Regions from separate parts of the Homo sapiens genome. Here region 2 is linked to region 1. Evidence: promoter capture Hi-C in human tissues and cell types (Jung and others, 2019). All regions are on one chromosome and are shown on one strand. Each heading gives the region's core, a stretch centred on a gene start or on the middle of the fragment in contact. The rest is flanking DNA. Distances are from core to core; before and after follow the strand shown.

What was found. The method cuts DNA at HindIII sites, captures the fragments that hold promoters and counts their contacts. A contact is called where the count stands out against the background at its distance.
Region 2: a fragment that was not itself captured here is called in contact with the fragment with the promoter of KRTAP5-1 in region 1 in 2 of the 25 tissues and cell types used here (dorsolateral prefrontal cortex and lymphoblastoid cells).

The regions. Positions count from the first base shown.
Region 1 is chr11:1,582,238-1,588,338 of GRCh38, forward strand. It overlaps KRTAP5-1 (keratin associated protein 5-1), which reads right to left and starts at 3,046. Exons shown (of 1, transcript NM_001005922.1): 1 at 2,105-3,046. The coding sequence starts at 3,012. The coding sequence ends at 2,176. The region is part of intron 1 of KRTAP5-AS1 (KRTAP5-1/KRTAP5-2 antisense RNA 1); the gene reads left to right. The HindIII fragment of the contact is 15,838 bases long and covers 1-6,101 here.
Region 2 is chr11:2,101,187-2,107,556 of GRCh38, forward strand. No RefSeq gene overlaps it. Among named protein-coding and RNA genes, the nearest start is that of MIR483, 30 kb to the right of the region's middle. The HindIII fragment of the contact is 7,700 bases long and covers 1-6,370 here.

The DNA.
Region 1 (6,101 bases), core at 1,796-4,295:
CCAGTCCGTGTCTTCTTATCCCTGACAGGCTGTCAGAGAGTCACTTCTTTCCCTGAGGTACAGGCTTAGCTCTTTAGTTGTCTGCTCAGGCAGCTTCAAAATTTGGAAAATGTCTTAAGGGCCAGATTAACCTGTGCCTGGGGCAGGACCCCTTCCTCTAGAAAAGCTCTGTGTACTAAGCTCCACAAGGCTATGCGAGACTTCAGCGCACCTGCGGAGGCCTCAGGCCTCACTTCTTAGCCTCCCCAGAAATTTGCAAATGTCCCAGTTTTCTGCTCCAGCCCCTGTGGTTGCCAAGAGCCCTGCTGGGTATTTCTCCCAGTAGAATTCCTCTTCCCCAGTGGGACCGAGGCTCAGCTCATACCCAGCACTGGTTAATTCCTTAAAGGGAGAGAAGCCGACATTCAGCTCATCTTGGAAGGGCTCTCTCTGAATGTTTTCATCTGGTTCTTGTTGCTTCTACAGTTCTCCAATGTCTTTTTTATAGATACATTTTTCCGGTATTTCAAAATTGTGGGCCGGATGCAGTGGCTGACGCCTATAATCCCAGCACTTTGGGAGGGTGAGGCAGGTAGATCACTTGAGGTCAGGAGTTTGAGACCAGCCTGGCCAACATGGTGAAACCCCATCTCTACTAAAAATACAAACAAAACAAAATTAGCTGGGCATGGTGGCTCATGCCTGTAGTCCCAGAAACTCAGGAGGCTGAGGCAGGAGAATAGCTTGAACCCAGGAGGCAGAGGTTGCAGTGAGTGGAGATCACACTACTGCACTCCAGCCTGGGCAACAGAGTGAGACTCCATCTCAGAAAAAAAAAATTGTGGTAAGATACATACGGTAGGATTTCCTGAAGTTATTTATTTATTTATTTATTTATTTATTTATTTATTTATTTTACCATCTGAGTTCTGTAATTAATGTGGCCTTCTCTGGTTGCTGCAATGGGATTGCTGACCTTCCATATACATCCCCTCTGGAATGTCATATTTGCATTCTTCTGGCTTTTTTTGTTTGTTTTTTGTTTTTTTTGAGACGGAATCTTGCTCTGTAGCCCAGGCTGGAGTGCAGTGGCGCGATCTCGGCTCACTGCAGCCTCCGCCTCCCGGGTTCACACCATTCTCCTGCCTCAGTCTCCTGAGTAGCTGGGACTACAGGCGCCTGCCACCATGCCCGGCTAAATTTTTGTATTTTTAGTAGAGAGGGGGGTTTCACCGTGTTAGCCAGGATGGTCTCAATCTCCTGACCTGGTGATCCGCCCCCCTCGGCCTCCCAAAGTGCTGGGATTACAGGCATGAGCCACCGCACCTGGCCGCCGGCATCTTTAATTCAGACTGCCAGCTTCCAGAACCCTGAGAAATACACTTCTGTTGTACATGCCAGTCCATGGTGTTCTGTTACATCAGCCCAAAGAGAATAAGACCGCGTGGTAACAGGCCATGATGACCCCCTAGTGATTGCTTTTGCCTGATCAAGGCAAGGCACCCCCGCCCTGAGCCAGATGCTGAGAGGGTGTGGTAGAGGCTGCACGGCAAGGGGCTGAGCCAGGTGGCTGCTGGTGCTCCTGCCTCTGACCGCCACCATGTATCCAGGATCCCTGCTGGCCAGGGCGCCCACCTGCCTGCTCCGGTTTGGTTCAGGGCCGGTGTGTGTGTGTGTGTGTGTGTGTGTGTGTGTGTGTGTGGTTCCCAGGGGACCCAGTGTAGCCACAGATGCCCCCCACCTGCCTCGAGAGGGAAATAAACATAAATATACCAAGACAGCTATGGGGTGCTGGGGTGAGCGGTTTATTGGATGTTTAAAGGACAGAGATCTGAACTCCTAGTGACTGCAGAGTGAGCAAGCACCCTGGGCTGTCCTGCAGGGCTGTCCGTGCTGGATGTGGTGCCAGCAGGCAGGGCTTGCGGATAGGCATTTGCTGCAGGTGGCTGGGGCGGTGGGGGGCTGGTCTCCAGATGCCTGGAAGGGAGGCCTTGAAAGTCATTCTTCTTGGATGCATGGGCCCATGGCATTTCTTGGTAGAAGGTCAAAGAGAAGTGTTCATGCTTGGCAAGGCAGGAGGGTGGGAGATAGGGTAGTGGGTGGGGAAGGAGAGTCTGGCTCACTGGGTGCCAGGAAAAGGAGGTAAAGGCTGGGCAGGAATGCCTGGCCATGGTAAGAGTCCTGCAAAGCCAGAAATCAGATCTTGCACTGGCAGCACACGGGGACACAGCAACTGGACTGGGAGCAGCAGGGCTTGCAGCAGCTGGATTGGCAACAGGATGACCCACAGCCTGAGGAACAGCAGCAGGGCTTACAGCAACTGCACTGGGAGCAGGATGACCCGCAGCCTCCCTTAGACCCCGCGCAAGAGCCACAACTGGAACAGGAACAGCAACACACGGGCACACCGCAGCCGGAGCCACAGCCCCCACAGCCGGAGCCACAACCCCCCTTGGATCCCCCACAAGAACCGCAGCCCCCCTTGCAGCCTCCACAGGAGCCACAGCCCCCCTTGGAGCCCCCACAAGAACCACAGGCCCCCTTGGAGCACCCACAGGAGCCACAGCCCCCTTTGCCACAGCTGGAGCAGGAACAAGCTGGCACACAGCAGCACATGGGCTTGCAGCAGCAGACAGGCACACAGCAGCTGGAGCCACATCCCCCACAGCCGGAACCACAGCCACCCTTGGATCCCCCACAAGAGCCACAGCCCCCCTTGGAGCCCCCACAGGAGCCACAACCCCCCTTGGATCCCCCACAAGAGCCACAGCCCCCCTTGCAGCCTCCACAGGAGCCACAGCCCCCCTTGGAGCCCCCAGAAGAGCCACAGCCCCCTTTGCCACAGCTGGAGCAGGAACAGGTTGGCACACGGCAGCACACGGGCTTGCAGCAGCAGACGGGCACACAGCAGCTGGAGCCAGAACCTCCACAGCCAGAGCCACAGCCCCCACAGCCGGAGCCACAGCCCCCACAGCCGGAGCCACAGCCCCCACAGCTGGAGCCACAGCCTCCGGAGCAGCCGCAACAGCCCATGGTTCTGGTGGATTGAGGGTGGAGCAGGTAGAGGAGCAGGTGAGAGGGAGGTGCAGGTGTGGAGCTCCCTGAGCCTGGACCCTTTATATCCCTGCCCAGGGTCATGTGTGAGGCTGGGCACACATTTCCTGGTTCCTGTTTGTGCCATTTTTAGGGCCCCTTTTTCTTGTTTCCTCTAGAAATCCGCCCCTTGGTGTATGGGCTGCTCAGTGGGCTGCTGCTCTCTTGCTGAATCTGTGTCCAGACTTAATGGAGGCCCCCAAGGGTCTAGCCTCTCCCTGTTGACTCCAGAGTCACACTGGATTTACAAAAGCATCTATTTTAGGCTGGGCATGGTGGCTCACACCTGTAATCTCAGCACTTTGGGAGGCCTAGGCAGGTGGATCACTTGAGGTGAGGGGTTGGAGACCAGCCTGGCCAAAATGGTGAAATCTCGTGTCTACTAAAAACACAAAAATTAACTGGGTGTGGTGGCTCACATCTGTAATCCCAGCACTTTGGGAGGCCGAGGCAGGTGGATCATTTGAGGTCAGGAGTTGGAGACCAGCCTGCCCAACATGGCAAAACCCCATCTCTACTAAAAATACAAAAATTAGCCAGGCATGGTGGTGCATGCTTGTAACTCCAGCTACTTGGGAGGCTGAGGCAGGAGAATGGCTTGAACCCAGAGGTGAAGGTTGCAGTGAGCAGAGATCACACCACTGCACTCTAGTGTGGGCAACAGAGCGGGACTCTGTCTCAAAAAAAAAAAAAAAGTGATCTATTTTAGTTGAACGATGGTATAAAGAGTAATATATTTAAAAAATGTAAAAAAAAACCCTACTCAACTTGGGAAAAAATGGCATAAATAAATGAAGTCTCTGTTCCTCCATCTCTCCATATTGTTTCTGTCCCACCCTAATAATTTCTTGAATTTGGAATTCACCACTCTCATGAAGGTCCTCACACTCCTACTTAATATGTATGTTCCTTTAAAAATGTTTTGTGGCCAGGCGCGGTGGCTCACACCTGTAATTTCAGCACTTTGGGAGGCTGAGGTGGGCGGATCATTTGAGTCCAGGAGTTTGAGACCAGCCTCACTAACATGGTGAAACCTCGTCTTTACTAAAAATACAAAAATTAACCAGGTATGGTGGCATGTGCCTGTAATCCCAGCTATTCGGGAGGCTGAGGCAGGAGAATCGCTTGAACCTGGGAGGCAGTGGTTGCAGTGAGCTGAAATCACGCCATTGCACTCCAGCCTGGGCAACAGAGTGAGACTCTATCTCAAAAAAAAAAAAAAAAAAAGAAAAGAAAAAAGAAAAAAAAATTTTACATGCTGAAAACTTTATGTAATGGGTATTACACTGTATTTCTCTTTCTGTAAATTGCTTTTGAAAAAAATAGGTGTTAGGCTAAAGAGATTTTCTCTAGGGATACATATGGTTTTAATTTATTTGTTTTCTCTGATTTCTAAATATACATTGACTTATCCATTTACTTGTTGATGGACCTTTTGTTTCCTTTTTGTTGCTATTTCAAGCAAGCTGCAACTTTCTTGCCCAAAACCCCTCCTGCAGGTGTGGGTGCCTGAAAGTCAGGAGGTTCTTGTTACCAAGCTGTCTTCCCAAGGGATCCCCCCAGCCAGCTGCTGTCCAACCAGCATTGCCAGAGAGCTCCTGTTTCCTGGCACCCCCACCAAAACTTGCAACTGTCAACTTACACCCTTCATGTGGGTGTGTAACACAGTGTTACACACTGTGGTTTAATATTCCCTCTTCCTGGTTACTAGCCATGCTGTGCCTCTTTCCATATGGTCACCTGTCATTAGAGTCTCGTTAATTTCACGTCCTTGGCCCACTTTACAAAATTGAGATAGTTATTATTATTAATTTTTGAGATGGAGAGTCTTGCTCTGTCTCCCAGGCTGTAGCGCAATGGTGCGATTTCGGCTCACTGCAACCTCCGCTTTCCATGCTCGAGCAATTCTCCTGCCTCAGCCTCCCGAGTATCTGGGATTACGGGCATGTGCTACCACACCTGGCTAATTTTTGTATTTTTAGTAGAGTCAAGGTTTCACCATGTTGGTCAGGCTGGTCTTGAACTCCTGACCTCAAGTGATCCACCCACCTCGGCCTCCCAGAGTGCTGGGATTACAGGTGTGAGCCACCACACCTGGCCAAGATCATTATTATTTTTATTGGTGTCTGAAGTTCTTTGAATTTTCTGGATTCTTTTATTTTGAGATGGAGTCTTGCTCTGTTGCCAGGCTGGAGTGCAGTGGCATGGTCTCGGCTCACTGCAGCCTCTGACTCCCTGGTTTGAGCAATTCTCCTGCTTCAGTCTCCCCTGGGATTACAGGCACGTGCCACCACACCCAGCTAATTTTTGTATTTTTAGTAGAGACAGGGTTTCACCGTGTTGGCCAGGCTGGTCTCCTGACCTCATGATCCACCTGCCTCAGCCTCCCAAAGTGCTGGGATTACAGGCGAGAGCCACAGCGCCCAGCCTTTTGTTTCTTCTTCTTCTTCTTCTTCTTTTTTTTTTTTTTTTTTTTGAGACAGAGTCTCGCTCTGTTGCGCAGGCTGGAGTGCAGTGGTGTGATCTCGGCTCACTGCAACCTCTGCCTCCGAGTTCAAGCAATTCTCCTGCCTCATCCTCCTGTGTTTCTTCTTAACATAGATGTCATTTATTCTAAGTTTTTCAAATTTATTGGGATGTACTTTTCATAGTTGCCTCTGTTTTTGAAGATGGGATCTTGCTATGTTGTCCAGGCTGGGGTGCAGTGGCCGTTCACAGGCACCATCATAGCTCACTGCAGTCTCGAACTCACGCCTGGCCTCAAGTGGTCCTCAGCCTCTGAAGTAGCTGGGACTACTACAGACTACCACATTTGACTACTACAAATCCCTACCGTGTGCCACCACGCCTGGCTTAGTAGCCTGTTATTTTTAATAGCTGCTAAATTTGTCATTATTTGCTTTCTTTTCTTTCTTTTTTTTTTATGGCAGGGTCTCACTCTGTCACCCAGGCTGGAGTACAGTGGTGTGATCTCGGCTCACCACAACCTCTGCCTCCCGGGTTCAAGTAATTCTCCTGCCTTAGCCTCC
Region 2 (6,370 bases), core at 1,384-3,883, 520 kb after region 1:
GGGCCTCCAGACACAGTGTACCAGAGGAGAACCCTTCCCATCCAGCATGGCCAAGCGGGACCCGTGTGGCACTTGAAGCTGGGTCCCTGGACTCACCACCTTCCCTCACTGGACCCCTCGGCAGCCATGCAGGTGGGGCTCACTCCCCTTTCTACTCGCCACCCTGCAGAGGAAGCTTCTTCTCGGCCAGCTGGCCCACCTGTGCCCCTCCCTCAGGAACCCCACCTGGCCCACCCCACAGCTCCTGTGTGTTCCCAGGGGCATCTGATCCTTCAGCCTGGCCCCTCTTTCCTCTCCAGCCACCTGTGCTGCCATTCCAGTGACAGCCAGGCCAAACTCCCTGCTGGGTCCCCAAATGTCAGGGCGTCTCTCTCACCTCTGTTCCCTCCTCCTGGAATGCCCTTCCTGCTGCCTCATGGCACGCTTCTCTTGGGCCGTTTCACAGGTGTCGCTTGGGGCTTGAGGATTTCAACCTCATGGGTTTTTAGATTAGAGTTAGAAAGAGGGGAGACCTTCACCTGGAGGCAATGATTCAAAGACAGGCAGATTACTTCTCTCCATCGACCCGCACAACCATCTTGGCAGCCCATTTTACAGAGAAGCCTAGACCAAAGGAATGAGGTGTCTTTCAAAGGCCACACAGAGCCAGGAGAGACTCTTCCCCACACTGACGTCCACTGGGACCCCAGCCTTAGTGCTCCCTGTGTGTGTCTGTCACTGTCATTGTGGAAAATAAAAGGTCCTGAAAGGACAGTCTCAGGTCCTGGTCCTGGTCTTAGATGTGACTTATGATGACTTCAAATCCATAAGACACAGATGCAGTGGGTAAATTGAGGCAGCCTCTTGTTTCTTAGCCAAAGAACTTGTTCAAGAAGTTTTCTTAGCAATGGGCTTCCAATTATCAAACCTGGATGATATAGAATTGTGGTGGAAAGGGTGGTAGATAGGTGGGTGGATAGATGGGTGGGTGAATTGATGGATGGATGGGTGAGCGGATGGATGGATGGATGGATGGATGGATAAATGGATGGATGGATGGATGATCGATGGATGGGTAGGTGGGTGAATGGATGGAGGTTGGAATGGATGGATGGATGGATGAGTGAATATGTAGGTGAGTGGAAGGATGTGTGGGATGGATGGGTGGATGAGTGGATGGGAAGGTGGTGTGTGAATGGATGAATGGATGGTTGAGATGGATGGATGATTAGGATGGATGGATGGATGGACGGATGAAAGGATGAGTGGGTAGAGGAAAGGATGAATGGATGGGTGAGTGGGGGATGTGGAGACATGAGGATGAATGTAGACGTATGAATAAGTAGGTGGATGAATGAAGAGCAGGTGGGTAGATGGAAGGGTGGATGAACAGTTGGATGGAGGAATGAATGGATCCTCAAATAGCACTTTCTTTGGCTAAGGTGTTGTAACCTTGAATCATGGAGAATGATTGCCAGGCACCCTCCACTCTGTGAGTCTCTGGTTCTCTGCCATGACCCCCAGGGCCATAGAGCAGTGTGGCTTCTCAATCCCCAAATAAGGTGGACAAAGTCCGCACTGGCAGGCCCAGGGAGCAGGAAGTCCGGGTGGGGTGGGAGGCCCTGCTCCCGGAGCTGAAGTCAGTTCCTTCTTTTCTAAACAATGAGGCCTGGCCTGATCTTTGCCGCACCTCCACCCTGCTCCACCCAAGCTCCCTCCACATCTGATGGGGCTCTGGGGCCCTCAGAGCTGGATGCAGGGAGCTGGGGGCTGGAGCAGGAGGGCCAAAAAGAGCAGGACCCACATAGTTTGCAAAAGGCTCAGTCGTGGAAATGCTGCCTTCCCTGCAGCCAAGGCTCCTGGAGCCAGTTTCCCCCAAGCTTCTTTCTGTAGGGAGATAGGAGCTGGGGGTTTGTTGGCCAAGACATGACTTTGGTTTCTTGTTTTCGTCTTTCTTCTTCAAGTCCATAGTTGGAAGGCCCTGCATCCCCTTCTCTCTCCTGTGTCCTCTTCCTTATGGTCATCCTGCTCTGTCCCCCCACTTCCCTTTCCTTGCCCCTCTCTCTGACCCACCATGGCCAGTCTGGCAGAGGAGGAGACTGGAAGAGTAGAGTAGGAAGGAAAACCAAGTCTGCCCTTGCCAGGGCACGGAGGACCAGACTTTCCAACCCAACCGTGGCTCCCAGTTTCAGTGACCAAGCTGGGGCTCTTAGGCCTAAGCAGGGGCTCTCCTCTGCTCCAGCTCTGTCTCCTGCATTGGCAGGAGAGAGCCTCTCCCACAGAGCTGTCCCTGGAACAGAAGGACAAGCTGAAAACCAGAGAATCTCCCCCTCTCGTGCTAAGGGTAGCCAGAGTGTTCCACGGCCCTGGAGACACCATCCACCACCCTCCCAGTGGGCTTCCTGGAAACCCAGAGATGGCTCCAGGGGCTCTGCCCTCCTGGGAAGCCACTTAGAGCCCAAAGAGCGCTTTCCACATGGAAATAAGGGGTCTCTTCTGAGGGTAGGGGTGCTGCAGTACAGAGCAGGGGCAGGGCCGGGAACTGGGGACACAGGCCTGTGTGGACTCAAAATGAACGAGGGCCGTCCTGTGCGTGCTCCACTCCAAATCCCATCTGCTCCCACACTGCTGGCCCAGGGAAAATCTGGGTAGTGACAGTGGCCGTCCCTCACGCCCTCCATGGCCAGGTGCCAGTAGCGTGTTCCACAAGCATCACCTTCGAAACCCTGAAGGAGTCAGGACTGTCGCTGTTCCAGACAAGGAGACTGAGGATGAGTCTCCATTAAGTGGCTTTCCCGCAGACACACAGTAAGTGGCACAAGAGTCAGGAGTTTGAGCCCGGGTCAGCCCAGCTCCAGCCATGGTCGCAGGGGCTGCCTGCAACCCCTGACGAGGGGCACCCCGGGGAGGCCTGGACCCAGCACCTGCAGCCCAACCTGGGCAGAGGCTGATCCAGCAGCTAGGAAGGGCATGGGTCCAGGAGATGGCAGAGCAGGGAACAGAGCGCTGCCGCTCAGGGTACTCCCGGGGAGCTGTGGTTCTCAGTGGAGGCCGCTCCCACACTGACACTCAGGCACCCTTTCACCTGCTGATGCCCAGACACTGCTGAGGCCAACACAACAGACCCACAGCCTGGGTCAGCACGGACAAGGGTGCTTCCTGGCTCCTCCTGACCATTGCTGAATGAATGATGGGTGAATGAATGAATTAACAAATGATGGCTGACTGATGAAAAGCAAGAACACAGATGGAACCAGAGCTTCTGGGGCGCGGAGGCAGGGGCACAACCCCCTCCCGTGCCGGAGTGCGCACACACACACACAGGGGTACACACATGCACGCACAGACACACATGCATACACACACATGCCCACACATGCAAACACACATTCATATACACACACGCCCACACACACAAACACACATTCATATACACACATGCCCACACATGCAAACACACATTCATATACACACGCACGCCCACACATGCAAACACACATTCATATACACACACGCGCAGCAGGCCTCCTTGGTCAAGGCCTCCAGAGCTTTGTCCTTCCTCACGGTTCCAGTGGCCCAGAAGACTCACCATGTTGCCTTGCCCCAGCCCAGGGCCCCAAGTGAGTGTATCAGGATCCCTGAGCCCGCCCCGAAATCCCCAGGTTTCCACCGCTCCCAGCAGGAAGCCGTGCTTCATGCATGAGGCCTCCCTCACCTGTTAATTTCCGCTGATCCTGCCAACCCCCAGGTGAGGGCAGCCATGGGGACCCCAGTGGCCCAGAGCTGGGCCCAGGAAAGGGACCAAAGGCCCAGGGGGCCTTGCTCCTGGAGCCAACTCCACTCAATGCCAGGGCACAGAGGGAAACCAGGCACTGTGGCCAGGCCCCTGGGAAGGGTCATGGGTGCATGCTCAGCAACCCTCGGCCATCATGTGGCTGCAGGCCCAGCCTGTTGCTAGGATTAGTCCCGGATTAGCCCACTGAGGTCCCAGAGGCTCGAGTGTCCTGGTCACCAGTGCTATAGAAACCTGGCCAGAGGCAGGGGGTGGAGACTGGTTCCTCCTTGGTGGGCTCTTCCCTCCAGGCCCAGTCTGAGCCTTACCCTTTCCTGAGCCAGCTCTGGAGTGCCTGGGGCCTGAGCTCCCACCCCCAGCCCTGCGGGAGCCCTTCTCCACAGAGCTCTGCACCTAGGGAAGTTGTAGCTTTCCAGAATCAGCTGTTTTCCAGATCCCGGAATGAAAACGGATGACCGATCATGTTGTGCCTGATGTGGAAAAGCGAAGCGTTTGTTCTCTCCCTTCTCAGATGCTCCTTAATACAGAAAACGTCAGAGCTGGTTCACCCTGCTGCCCCAGGAGCACCCTGGAGCTTCCCTCCCCAGGCCCAGCCCAAGCACCGCCTCCTGAGAACTCTCCTCCCCTCACTGACCCCTGTCCCATCTGTCTCTGCCCTGAAGGAACACCAAGTTGGGGCTGTGGGGCTGGGACCAGGCCTCGGAGCCAGGTAGCAGCCCATTGGGGGACAGCTCAAGAGGCTCCGAGAGCTCCCTGTGACATCTGAGAGGCCAGCAGGACGAAGGCCACAGCCAGCAGCCAGGACCTGACCACTTGCCCAGGCTGGTCTGAGCTCCTGGCCAGGGGCCTCTTGGCAACATGACCTGGCAGGTGCTGTCTGTCCATTATTCCCCTCTCACGGATGTCCCCGGCCTCTGTGGACATGACCGCCTAGCCCTGAAACTCCAAATGTACCTTTCTGCCTCTCCTCTTCTCTGTCAGGTGATGCCATCCTTCCCAGGGGCCTTCTGGGCTCTTCACTCCTCTAGGCCCTCAGCAAAGGCTCTCACTCTGCCCTCAGCACACACCAGGGTGCAACCACCCTCACTCCTCCACCAGTCCCTCCCAGTCACTCCCTTCTGTGTGTATCCCAGCAGGTGCCTCCACTTCTCCTCTTGCACTCTGGTCACTCAGCAGCCACAGGATCCCTTCACTCCTAAGCAGAGACCTCCACTAGCCCCACTTCTCTCCAAGAAAAAGCTGCATCCCCTTCAGGGCTTCCTGATGCCTTCCTGGGCAAGCTCCCCTTGGTTTCTCAGGTGTGTTTCTCAACAACCCATGCTTCCTCCCTATCCACCACTCCTCAGAGACGCCACATCACCTCTCTACAAGCCTTGTACCCGCTGCTCCTGCCATGAGATGCTCTCCCCCAGATGTCCATGTGAGTATGTGGTGGGGGCTAGAAAGGTATGTAGATGGGTAAATGGTTGGCTGGGTAGATGGCTGGATGCGTGGGTGGATGCATGGATCCATGGAAGGAAGGAAGGAAGGAAGGAAGAGAGGGAGGGAGGGCAAGAGGAAAGAAGGAAGGAAGGAAGGAAAGAAGGAAGGAAGAGAAGAAGGGAGGGAGGGAGGATGAATGGGTGCACAGATGGGTGCATGGATGGGTGCATGGATGGGTGCATGGATGGGTGGATGAACAGATGGATGGATGAACAGATGGATGGATGGATAAGTGGATGCATGGATTCATGGAAGTAAGGAAGGAAGGAAGGAAGGAAGGAAGGAAGGAAAGGAAGATGGATGGATGCATGGATGGGTGCATGGATGGATGGATGGATGCATGCATGGATGGAAGGAAGGATGGATGGGTGGATGGATACATGAACAAATGAGTGGGTGGATGGATGGATGGATGAATGGGTGGGTGGATGCATGGATGGGTGGATGCATGGATGGATGGAAGATAGATATATGGATAAATAAGTGGGTGTATGAATAGGTGGGTGAATGGACGGATGAATAGATGCATAGATGGGTGGATGCATGGATGGATGGATGGATAGATAGATAGATACATGGGTGAATGAGTGGATGTATGAATGAGTGGGTGAATGGATGGATGAATAGATGCATAGAGGGGTGGATACATGGATGGGTGGATAGATAGATAAATACATGGATGAATGAGTGGGTGTATGAATGGGTGGATGCATGCATGGATGGATGGATAGATGGATGGATAAATGGATACATGTAGGAGTGAGTGAATAGATGCTTGGATGGATGGATGGAAGAAAGGATGGATGGATAGATGAATACATGGATAATGACTGGGTGTATAAATGGATGGGTGGATGGTGGGTGGATGAATGAATGGATAGATGCCTGGATAAATGGATGGATAGATGCATGGATGGATGAATGGATGGGTGGATGCCCTTTCTCTGAATGCCAGCCAGGAACGTAGCCAAGTGGAAAGGCCCAGGTGGGCAGCTGTCTTCCCAGACCACTCACACTGACCTGAGAACAACTGCTGGGCCCCAGGTGTTGAAAGGGCAAAAAGAGATGTACCCAGCTGGACTGTGCAGGTGCTGGCTGCCCGTTGTTTTGAGCCAT